Regions from separate parts of the Homo sapiens genome. Here region 2 is linked to region 1. The links are contacts of gene promoters, found by promoter capture Hi-C in blood cells and fetal thymus (Javierre and others, 2016). All regions are on one chromosome and are shown on one strand. The core of a region is centred on a gene start or on the middle of the fragment in contact, and the rest is flanking DNA. Distances in the headings are between cores, read along the strand shown. Region 1 holds the start of THOC7-AS1 (THOC7 antisense RNA 1). Region 2 overlaps NR1D2 (nuclear receptor subfamily 1 group D member 2).

What was found. The method cuts DNA at HindIII sites, captures the fragments that hold promoters and counts their contacts. A CHiCAGO score of 5 or more calls a contact.
Region 2: a fragment that was not itself captured here is called in contact with the fragment with the promoter of THOC7-AS1 in region 1 in 1 of 17 cell types (non-activated CD4 T cells); the score reaches 8.3 in non-activated CD4 T cells.

Annotation. Positions count from the first base shown.
Region 1 is chr3:63,856,845-63,862,918 of GRCh38, forward strand. THOC7-AS1 (THOC7 antisense RNA 1) reads left to right here and starts at 3,801. Exons shown (of 2, transcript NR_104326.1): 1 at 3,801-4,152; 2 at 4,655-4,975. The region is part of intron 1 of THOC7 (THO complex subunit 7); the gene reads right to left. The HindIII fragment of the contact is 14,056 bases long and covers 1,647-6,074 here.
Region 2 is chr3:23,946,649-23,952,705 of GRCh38, forward strand. All of the region lies in intron 1 of NR1D2 (nuclear receptor subfamily 1 group D member 2), which reads left to right. Among named protein-coding and RNA genes, the nearest start is that of NR1D2, 4.4 kb to the left of the region's middle. RefSeq lists a silencer at 2,090-2,384. The HindIII fragment of the contact is 1,040 bases long and covers 3,087-4,126 here.

The DNA of each region.
Region 1 (6,074 bases), core at 2,551-5,050:
GTAGCTGGGACTACAGGCGCCCGCTACCACGCCCAGCTAATTCTTTTGTATTTTTAGTAGAGACGGGGTTTCACCGTGTTAGCCAGGATGGTCTTGAACGCCTGACCTCGTGACCTACCCGCCTCGGCCTCCCCAAGTGCTGGGATTACAGGCGTGAGCCACCTTGCCCGGCCTCATTATAGATATTCTTATCCCTATTTTACCAATGAAAAAGCATCTTGCCAAAAATTAAATGTCACAGGAAGTAAGGAATAGAAATGGAACTCAAACTCAGGAGTCAGGCTCCAGAGAAGATACTTTTACCTTTTAGAGGCATTAAAAATCATTCTGGGAGAGGAATTATTACGGAAGGTAAAGAGGGGAAGGTTTTCATTTTTCATATTGTGCATTTCTTCTTGAATTTACTGACATGTAGTACTTTTTTTATGAAGTAGTAACAGTGGTTAACTGGGTGGTAAACTTATTTATCATTCTCAGGTACTTCATTTTCTCTGTATTAAAAATTCTACTCCGTTACTGAATAAAGCTATGATATGTTAACAACAACAAAGAAAACTGGCTTGATTTGACCTACTTTAAATGAACAAGAAGAGAGACTAAGGCCATGTAAAAAAAATGTTCATGCAGATTCCTGTAAGATTTATCGTTAGACCACCACAGCTCATGTTATTAAGATGAATCACACATATTAGCCCATTGTGTTACATTCCTTATGGTAAAATAACACCTGGTCCCTCCTTTCAAAAAGCTCAAAGCCATTAAAACAATTTTTAAGGTCAACAATATTAAGGAGACACATAAAAGGTGGGTGGAAGGAACAATAAGATGGTTTGATTCCTCCATGTAGATATTAACCTCTCCTAAGATACTTCTGACTGGTCTACATAAATTGCTGATGCCAAGGTAAATTACGTGCACCAAAATTAAATTTAAAATTTTAAAAGGAAAATAAATGCAAAACATCATGTTGAGGTCCTTTGTCTTTTCTCTCTATTTAAATGTTTAGAGTAGTATAGTGCTAATAAAGTCAAGGTGAAATGTCCATCTTGCTTTGAAAAACCAATTATCTTGGCTAAAGAAACATCATTTCATAGTTGAACTGCAGCAGTTATCCCTGTGTTGGGGCCACAGAAGATGGAAGAAAGTGGGCAAATGCAATGGCACTAATGAAAAAAAAACCCAAAAACAAAAGAACCCTGTGCCCACAAATGTCTAATTAACATTGGATCAGCAATTGAAATAGGAATAACAGCAGCAGCAAACACTTGCACAGCATTTATACCACCCTAGTTGGTGACCACACAACCCATTTGTTTCTTTTCACTCTGAAAAGTGTCCTGGTTTACACAATAAATTAAATGGTCACTCAACTTCAAAGTGCTTTACATATATTATCATGTTTCATCCTTGAAACAACTCTACAAAGTGTGTACTATTATCTTCCTTTCACAGATGAGTTACTACTCACCTCTGCATTCACAGAAAAATATATACAATTACATTATTAGAAAGTCATAATGCAGCTCCATTATTCTGTCATATTATTCGTAGGCATATTAAAAACCATTATTTCACATTGCAACAAGTACATATTCATGCATTACATTTTTCTAAGTTAAAAAAAAAAGCTACCGTCAAAACCAGCAAGCTTTATTAAATAGAATGTAGAGCCACATTCCACCCCAACCCCTTTCTCCATCTCTCATCTGTTGCTCTGGCATATCAATATATCACCTAATGTTCTCTGTAGTGCAAAAAGTGCTTCTGAAATGATTTCTATCAGGGTACTAACAATATTTAGCATCCTTTAAATTAACACATACAAAATACAGTTAACATAGTTTAAATTAACAGTGACAACATCCACACTGTTTTTCAGCTAGCCAGACTGCTAGAGTTGGCAACAAGGGAAGGAGAGAAAATGGCTTTGTCACAAACTACCTGTGTGACTGCAAGTCACTAACTTCCAAAGACCTCTACTTTTTCACTTATAACATGACAGTAGTGGTGAAAATATCCAGTCTAGTAGCTATAGCTACTCTAAAGCAGGGCAGTTCCTCAAACTGAGTGCAGGAAATAAAGGGCTGCTTCTTCAAGAGCTCCCAGTCCAACTGGATACGCAGACCCAGAGGAATGGATTACATGAAGGGACAGTGATACAGGCACATCAAATTTGTAAAAGACATTGGCTCTTATGTAAGCTCCATGGACAGGTACTGGTACTCCTCCAAGAGCTTTCCAGGAGGATGAATGAGATATCAAGAGCATCCACTTCTATCTTCCACACTAACATCGCTCTAATCCAAGCCCACATTTCTCTCATCTGGAATATTTTGCATTGGACTCCCTGTTTCCATTCTTGCCTTCCTAGAATCCATTTTTTATGCAACTCAGAATGATCTAAAAGATGAATTGGATCACTAACTCTCCTGCTTACAATCCTCCTATCATTTCTAAATGCCCACAAAGGACAATTCAGTCTCCTTTCCAAAGCCTGCAAGGCTCCTCCTGAGCTCCCTTTTACCTCCTTTTGCATCGTACTCCTCTTGGCCCACCTGGATGCAGTCCTGTCCCTAGATCCAGCCCAGTGGCTTTCCTTATTTCCTCTAAAGGGTGCAGAGCTTGTTTTCACCTCGGGCCTTTGCACTAGTTGTTGTCTCTATCTGGAATACTTTCCTGGGCTCTTCATGTGGTTGAACCTGTCAGGTATCACTGCCCTCCCCCATTACTCTCTGTCCTCATTCCATCAAGTTCATTCTCAGAACTTAATTACATTCCTTTTCAGAAATTATCTTATTTACTTATTTGATTGCACACTATGGCTTCTTTCCCCAAAGCAGGGGCCAGGGCCCTCCTCTGTCTAGTTCACTGCAAAGTAGCCAGGACCTCGCATTGTGCCTAGAAGGTATGCAATAAATACTTGTTGACGGATCACACATACCACTCATTTCAGCTTGATTTTTTCAAAAGCTCAGCTGACAAAAACCATGTTTATAGAGGATTGTCTGAAGAAGTTGTAGTTTGTCTTTCCTCTATGGTCTAGATATTCAATCAAAAAACCCTGATTTGAATCAAGCCAGATCAGCAGAGCTACCCACTACCCACCTAAACCACATTGTCCATTGATTTTATTTATTTATTTTTAGACAGGGTCTAGCACTGTTGACAGGCTGGAGTGCAGTGGTGCAATCATGGCTCGTTGCAACCTCAAACTCCTGGGCTCAAGTGATCCTCCTGCCTCAGCCTCCTGAGTAGCTGGGACTACCTACAGGTGTGTTCCACTCCACCTGGCTAATTTAAGAAAATTTTTAGTAGAGATGAGTAGCTGAGACTACAGGTGCACACCACCACACACGCCTGGCTAATTTGAAAAATTCTGTAGTATAGATCATGTCTTGCTGTGTTGCTTAGGATGGTCGCAAACTCCTGGGCTCACGTGATCCTCCTGCCTTAGCATCCCAAAGTGCTAAGATTGATTACAGGTGTGAGCTACCACACCCAGCCTCTACTGGCTTTAGAATGTCTTTCTAAATTGTGATTTAGCCTTCTTTTACCTAGCAAGGGATGTGCTACAAAACAGCTCTATGATCTTCAGTGCTGAAAAGAGGTTAAGGATATGACACTGGCTTTCATTTATAAAGACCTCAATGATAAACTTTTCCTCTAGTTCAAATCAGAAAAAAAAAGTGCTTTTCCTGGGCATCTAAGATTGCCTTCTCTCATGAACACTAGATCACAGAGCAGACGAGGTCCTGCCTCTCAGAATGGCCTACTGGAGAAACAGGTCACTTACAGCTTGGTTAATTAATGTACTAGACTTTATCCTCCTGCATTTTGAGGATCACCCCACTTCTGACTTCCCTTTATTTTTCCTAATCTCAATGTTCTTTTTGTCTTGTTTTCTAATCCGTTTAATTTTTATATTTTCTCATTACAGTGAACTGCCTTAAATGTTTTCTAGCATAAGGCATATAAATAACGTATTAAGGGTGACAGCAGCAATATGCATAAAATAATATGGCTAGTAGGCAGAAGGTCAACTACTTCTAGGAAAGAAAAGAGGGGATTTTTGAGGTGGGTCTTGAGGAATAAGTGGAGTGTCACCTGATAGAAAAGGCAGGAAAAGGCAACCTGTGCAGATTAAGAGAGAAGGCAAAGTCCACATCAAAGGAAAGTGGAAGACAGATTAGTAAAACAACTCTGACATTAATATTTACTGAATATTAATTATTATGTGTTGGACTCAATGCAAAGCCCTTTACAACTTTTTGTGTTTAATCCTCAAAACAATCCGCTGATGTGGATTTTATTATTATCTCCGTTCAGAGACTGAAGCTGAGACAGTCTGTAAGTGGCAGGGTAGAGATTCCTGTGGCTTTTAAGGATGTGGGGGGGCACTTGACTGCAGTCATTACTTTAGAACTCATCTTCTGTCCCTATCTCCCATCTGACAAAGCCTGTTGCTCCTTTGGACATCTCAATCTCAATAAATAGAAAAGTAGCACTAACAGGCACACAGTGAAGTCAAAAACCTGGGATCATCCTAAATCCCTTCTCCCACCATCCATTCAATACCTGAAGTCCTGACATTCTACCTCACAAATTTCCCTATTTCCCTCCCACCTGTCCTCTTTGCATTCCCTCTTGGTCACAGTCCTCATTGTCTCTCACCAGGGCCACTGCAGAAGTAGCAGACACAGGACGCATAATAGTGAAGAGCAGGAACTCGGCAGGTGGTCTCCCTGCCTTTGACCCTCTATAACTACTATCTGTGCGACCTTAGGCAAGCTAACCTGTGTCTGTTTCATCTGTAAAATGGGGATAACAATTAGAATAATACCTAACAGCACTACGTAAACGTTAGTAAGTGGCGAGGAAACTTAGCTCCTCATTTTCTCTTCCTCTAATCATTCTGCACATAACAGAGACAGTGTGTATGTGTGTGTGTGTTTTTTTTTTTTTTAATGAGACACGGTCTCACTCTGTCACCCAGACTGGAGTGCACTGGCGCGATCTTGGCTCACTGCAGCCTCAACCTCCCAGGCTCAAGTGATCCTTTCTCCTCAGACTCCCAAGTCCTGGGACTACAGGTGTGTGCCACTGTGCCAGACCAATTTTTTTGTATTTGTAGACATGGGGTCTCACTATGTTTTCCAGGCTGGTCTTGAACTTCTGAGCTCAAGAGGTCCGCCTGCCTTGGCCTCCCAAAGTGTTGGGATTACAGGCGTGAGCCACTGTGCCCGGCATGTGTGTGTGTTTTAATGCCAATCTGATTAACACCACACCAGTGTTAAAACTTTTAATGGATTCCTATTGCCCTTAGAGATCTCTGGCTCATAACTTTCTAAATTCTAGCAATACTTGTCAGCTTTGAGTTCTTCCAACATCTTGGGGTCTTTATACAAGTGGCTACCAACCCAGAACACCAGTCCAATATCTATTTATTCTTCAAAAATGGGATTAACTTCGAGGAGGCTTTCTCATTTCCATTGATTGGATAAATAATCTTTGTTACATGTTCCTACAGTTCCCAACCTTGTACTTCCTTGTGGTAATATTTGTCACTCTTAAAACTCATTAGTCAATGTTTCTTTCCCTTCAGACCAAAATTTTGGAGAGGGAAAAGTTCTTGCTTGTTAGTTCTGGGTTGTAATCCCAAAGCCTAGTCCAGGAAGGATAAATATCCACTAAATAAATGAAACTGGAATGAAGCAAAGCTGAAATTCCACATGAAGTTCCTGGGTCTTTAGTAGCCTCCCACCTCCACTACTCTTTATCAGTCTGGAAATTTGGGCCTATCACTGTTCTTCCCATGGCCAGGCCCTTTAATGTGGAGACCCTGGTGGTCTTCAACTCTTAAGAAGTGGCCTCTCCACAGGCATTTACAGTTACCGGTCACCATCTCCTGAAAAACACCCAAGAGCCCTAGATATCCCCTTCCCAGATATCAAAGGACCTCCTTCCTCCCTAACCAGATACCTTGTAGGTTCTCCCTCCAGTTGCCAATCATGCCCCTTCCCCCAAAGTGTCACCTTATTTCCGCTCTCAGTCCATAGACCATCTCCCTTAGACTG
Region 2 (6,057 bases), core at 2,357-4,856, about 40 Mb before region 1:
TCAGGTGATCATAGGTGACTCCAACACCATATGTAAGACTGGACATTCTTCATTTAAATTAAAAAAAAATTAACCTGTGGGTCGCTGACTTTTCCTGAATCTGATCAAGAGAATTTGGCTTTATAAATATTTTTCTTGTCACATTTTGTTACATTGCAACGGAACAACAGGGTGCCCTTCCCTCCTTTTGTCTGCCCCAAATGATGAGGTAGATCTGAAGTGAGTGAGGTTATGGAAACAGCCAGCTTTTGTTTTATTTTTTGAGTTGCAATGCGCCTCTAAGAATCTTGCCTCGATAACAAATGTATTGTGAACTTTTCACCAAAAGTAAAAATAAAGTCACTTTCTAATTTTATTTACGTATTTTTAGAATTTACTTATTTTTTTTAACCTGTTGTCTCACAAAAATCTGGATCTAATTGTGTTTTGATTACCTAATCGGCCTACTTAGCCTTTGAGGGTATTTTTAAAATTTTATGAGTTTATCATAGAATTAAACTTCTACATGTTAGAATTCAGAGGTGATCAGGGTGAACCTCTTCTAACCCACCCTTTAGCATGAATTCTAATAGCTTTAGTAACCTCATAAGGGCTGGCTCAATTAGGAAGTTTTTCTCTGGTTTGAGCCCTCTTCCAATACTTCGCTGATCTAAATCTTGCCTCGTGGAGCAAGGCACATTATAAAAATTCCTCCGGATGAATGTTGACCATCCCCTTCCCCCTTCAGTTCTTCCATTTACAGTTCTCATCTCTTTGTCCTTGCCCAGCATTGTTTTTTCTGATCACTCATCATCCTTGTTGCCGTTTGGGATGGAGCACCCAGAAGTGAACAGGCTCTTGTGGAAGTGGTTGGATGATTATCAAGTTCCAAGTTGCCCTCTTTGTCTTGAATCCTGTTGCAAATGAATTCCCTGGCAGGCTTAGTATTTTTGGCATGTTGCTTTGCTGACTCACAGTAACCTTGCAGTCAACTAGGACCTTTCACGTGAACTATTATGAAGTTAGATTTCATTCATTGTGCAGATAATTGCATGACTTGAAGTGTAGGAATTTACAATGACCATTCTTAAAATTTCTCTCGTTCATTTGGCCTTAAGTTCAAAGCTGTTACAAGCTGTTACCCACCATGTTTACAGTTTCTGCTATCTATCAGTAAGCAGGAGGTCTAATAAGAATTGCCTTAAACTGGCCGGGCACAGTGGCTCACGCCTGTAATCCCAGCACTTTGGGAGGCTGAGCCGGGCGGATCCCCTGAGGTAAGGAGTTCGAGACCAGCCTGGCCAACATGGTGAAACCCCGTCTCTACTAAAAGGACAAAAATTAGCCGGGCGTGGTGGTGGGCTCCTGTAATCCCAGCTACTTATGAGGCTGAGCAGCAGAATAGCTTGAACCTGGGAGGTGAAGATTGCAGTGAGCCGACATCGCGCTACTGCACTCCAGCCTGGGCGACAAGAGCGAGACTCCCATCTCAAAAAAAAAAAAAAGCCTTTTAACTTTCGAATTTTTGTAAACATTGACCAAGGTGGGGCCAGATTCAGCGCTGTGTGGCACACCTCTACCCTTCCCTCTAGTTTGGTTATCAGTTGACAAACATTCAACCAGTGATCCTGTAATCTTACTGTCCTTCGTGACATCTCTATGTCTCCTCGCCCCATGAGTAACAAGTGAAAACAGTGGAGTAAAAGACTTGGAAAAAAATTGGAGAGGTGGAGCAAAGAAATCTTTCCTTGGAGCAAGGAAAAGCAAGAATTGAAGAAAAGTTGCTCTACTGGTCAGTAGGGTTAAGAGATTCAAAAGGTAGTGTGGAAATAACCTACAAAGAAACCACTGGATCCTTAACACACATTAAAAAATGAGGTGAATAATGGGTAGGGAGGATTAGTTACTTTGGTTTGAACCATTCTGTTGGAACTCTTCTAGTATAATGATGACAAAAAAATAATCATCAGCTTCTTACTCTGTGCCAGGCCTTTTACATGTGTTCCTCATGTTAATTCCATGAAGGAAGGTGCCGTTGCCACCATCTTAATGATGCGGGGCTAAGTAAATTGAAGCTAAATAACTTACTCAGGCAAGTAGTAGAGCCAGAATTTGAATCCACAAAATTTACTTGGGAACACAAACTGTTAACTACTGTGCTATAATGTACTTTAGCCTGCATAATATTTGAAGATTTATACGCAACTTGGTGGTCCTGTCTTCTTGAGGGTGAAGGAGATACTGCATGTGTATGGATCCCCACTCAATTTGCAGTGATATATGTAGGTTATAGCTAGTGGAAAAGGATAGTCATCTGCAGGGCCTCCCAGTTTCATCAGTCCTCTCTTTAGTCATGCTGGCTTATTTCCAGACATTAGATTACACCTTGACCTCCCTTCTCCAGTAATTTACATGGAGATAAAAATAATGTCTATTTTATAAAATAAGACCGATTTGGCTGGGCATGGTGGCTCATGCCTGTAATCCTAGCAATCTGGGAGGCTGAGATGGGCAGATCACCTGAGGTCAGGAGTTCGAGACCAGCCTGGCTAACATGTGAAACCCTGTCTCTACTAAAAATACAAAAATTAGCCGGGTGTGGTGGCGGGTGCCTGTAATCCCAGCTACTTGGGAGACTGAGGCAGGAGAATCGCTTGAACCGAGGAGGCGGAGGTGGCAGTGAGTCGAGATCACACCATTGCACTCCATCCTGGGTGACAGAGCGAAACTCCGTCTGAAAAAAAAAAACAACAAAAAACACACCATTTATTTTTGTGTCACCCTATTTAAAAAATGTCTCTTTTGATGATTTAAACAGTCTTCAATTCCCCACTTAGATATTGCAACCTTGGATGTGTTTGCCCCTATTGATTTCTGCCCTCTTTAGTATGATCCTCAGCAGTCACAATCATGTGTGTGAAACATTGCTCCTAATAACATAGGTGTTTCCCCAGTTGGCCTATAAGGCATTTTAGGGAAAGGACCATGCTGTTCTCTGGAGCCCTGACACCTAGGACACAATTGGAATTTTAGTGCTTCAGTTAGATCTACTCTACCACCCTTGGAGTAGAAATTATTTATAACACTTTTAAAATGAGGGAAACTAAAGCTTCTTGGTGATAAAATGTTTTGTTCTAAGTCACAAGGCAGAAAAGTACAGTCATGACTTGAAGTCAAACATAATCTCCAGGATGGTGGACAGAGGAAGTGTGAGGGTTTTGATGATGGACAAGTGTAGAAAATGGGTAAGAAGACCCCAATATATGCAGGAATATCAGTGCTTCCTAGCAGTACAAAATTGGATATTGACTTAAGGCTTGTCTGAAGTTGACCACTGGGTAAGCCCTAGCCTGGGAACCTGGCCCAGGTCCAGGGTCCCTTTCAACTGAAAATAGAGAAGACTGCTTCAGCTAATTTTAGCTCAGGGTTTCAAAGAGGTACATACTGCCTGTTTCTTGGAGGTGTTGGGACTTGCTGGTTTGGGGATTTTTACTCTTCTTACTTTATCATCAAAAACAGTGTATGAAAAAAGCACTTATGAATGCCATTTCATTTCAGTCTTGTAATAAGTGGCAGATATTCCAATTTTATAGAAGACCACTCAGGTTTAGAAAGATTGAAAGTGACTTGCTTGCTCAGGTCTTCTCACCAAATAAGTTTGTACTCTGGAATTGGACAACCTTGACTTTAAACTTTGGCCTGCCACTTAGTGGCTGACTTATCCTCTCTGAGCTCCTTGTTTAAAAAATGATTTGATGAAAGTTAATTCACAGAGTTCTTCTTGTGAGGATGAAATTGTGTCATTTTATTCCTGACATCCAGTAGGTACTTGGTGACTTGTAGTTTCACTTTCCTTTCTTCATTAGGTTGAGGAACTACTAGATGTACTCCTTTTCTTCTAAGAAATTAAAATTTAACCCATTTGGGTTGCTATCAGTCAGGTTCATAGATGGGTGTCTAGTAGCAAGAATAGATGCCAAGACAACTAAATCAATATTGAAGGTCTTGCTAGGAGAATGCAGCTACTTCTAGATGGGTCTTCTTTGATTTTCTGGTGCCTGGCACAGATGCTTGTTTTCTTAAGACAGGAATTGGATCTTCGCTGGATTGATAATAGCCCAGTAGTTTCTTTTAGGTTGGATATTGAAGCTTTTGCAAAGGAAATTGTTTTTTGGTTAATTAATTACGATACAGTCCATTGCCCCGTCAGTGCTTGCAACCAATTTTTAAGCCATCTGCATAGCTCTAATTTCTTTTCTTTTCTCTTTCTTTTTCTTTTTTTTTTTTTTTTTTTGAGATGGAGTTTTCACTCTTGTTGCCCAGGCTGGAGTGCAATGGTGCCATCTCGGCTCACCGCAACCTCCGCCTCCCGGGTTCAAGTGATTCTCCTGTCTCAGCCTCCTGAGGAGCTGGGATTACAGGCATGCGCCACCACACCTGGCTAATTTTGTATTTTTAGTAGAGATGGGGTTTCTCCATGTTGGTCAGGCTGGTCTTGGACTCCCGACCTCAGGTGATCCGCCTGCCTCGGCCTCCCAAAGTGCTGAGGTTACAGGCGTGAGCCACTGTGCCCGGCCAGCTCTAATTTCTAAAAGTTTATTTCTTAGCTAAGGTAGTCAGCAGATCTTGTGAACATAAATGACTGAAAATGGGGGCCCTAGGAAAGTCTTACTTCCAAGGAAAAACATCACTTTCTTATCTTTTATTTTCCTGAGATGTTAGATGTGAATTTAGTACTTAAGACACTATTTTAGAGAAGACAAATAGCTGTGAGATCTTCCTTTGGAATTTCATTGAGGACTAAGAATATTTGTCTTTGTAAAGTGTCCTATTGTGAGTGGAGACATCTGTGAAAAAGTAGCAGTGTGCTAATACCTGGAATTTTTAATGTGGACTTAAGATCTCTAAAGTTATATAAAGACAGCACAATGGTTTTATCCAGTAACATGACACTGGCTAGGTTTCTAGGTTAAGTTGGTTTCTCTTTGGATTCACAGGGTATTAATGATATTCTGGCGGTTGTATCGATGAAATCATCAATCTTTAAAACTATGGGCCAATTTGTGTTTGAATTCACTGATTGTAGCCATTTTGAAACTTCAATGTGCAAATAATTGCTTGGAGAGCTTGTTAAAATTGCACATTCCTGAGGATGTGTTCTCGTCTGGGCAGGGCCTTGGAAACATGTATTCTGAAAAAGCACCAGCTAGTTTTGAGGATATGTATTTTACATAATTTCTCTGGGTGATGAAAATAAACTCGAAGTTGGGAATCTTTCTTCTTGTGTTTGTAGTTTTGGAGTTTTTAGATTTTAGAATAAATGGTAGATGAAAACTACCTTGGTCACTTTGTCTTCCAGGGAGCACAGATGAAGTAGTTGGCTTGTGGCAGTGTTCTTCAAACTTGGATGTGCATCAGAATCACCAAGAGGGCTTATTAAAGTTTCTGATCCAGTAGATCTGGAGCGGAGCCTGATAATTTGCATTTCTAACAGATTCTGGGTGATACTGATGCCCCTAGTCCAGGGCCCACACTTTGAGATGGTTGGTTTGTAGTTAGGGACCATGTTGCAGGAAAAATATTAATTGCAGGATTAATTAAGGTGAGATGCACATAGCAAGAGAGCATATGGACAGTGGGTTTAACTGGGAAGAGCAGATTTGCACCTCTCACCTCATGATCGAGTCCAGGCATAGGCTTCATGAATAAAACAGTGGATGGAATTGTCTACGTTAGTGATATTTTTGTCTTAAAAATCAAGTGCATATAGTTGAATTTATGTATGTTAAATTTGTGTCTGGGCTGGGCACGGTGGCTCACACCTGTAATCTCAGCACTTTGGGAGGTGGAGGCGGGCGGATCATCTGAGGTCGGAAGTTCGTGACCAGCCTGGGCAACATGGTGAAACCCTGTCTCTACTAAAAAAAAAACAAAAACCAAAAACAAAAATTAACCAGGCGTGGTGGCGGGCGCCTGTATTCCCAGCTATTCAGGAGGCTGAAGGAGGAGAATCGCATGAACCCGGGAGGCGGAGGTTGCAGTGAGCTGAGGTTGTGCCACTGCACTCCAGCCTGGACA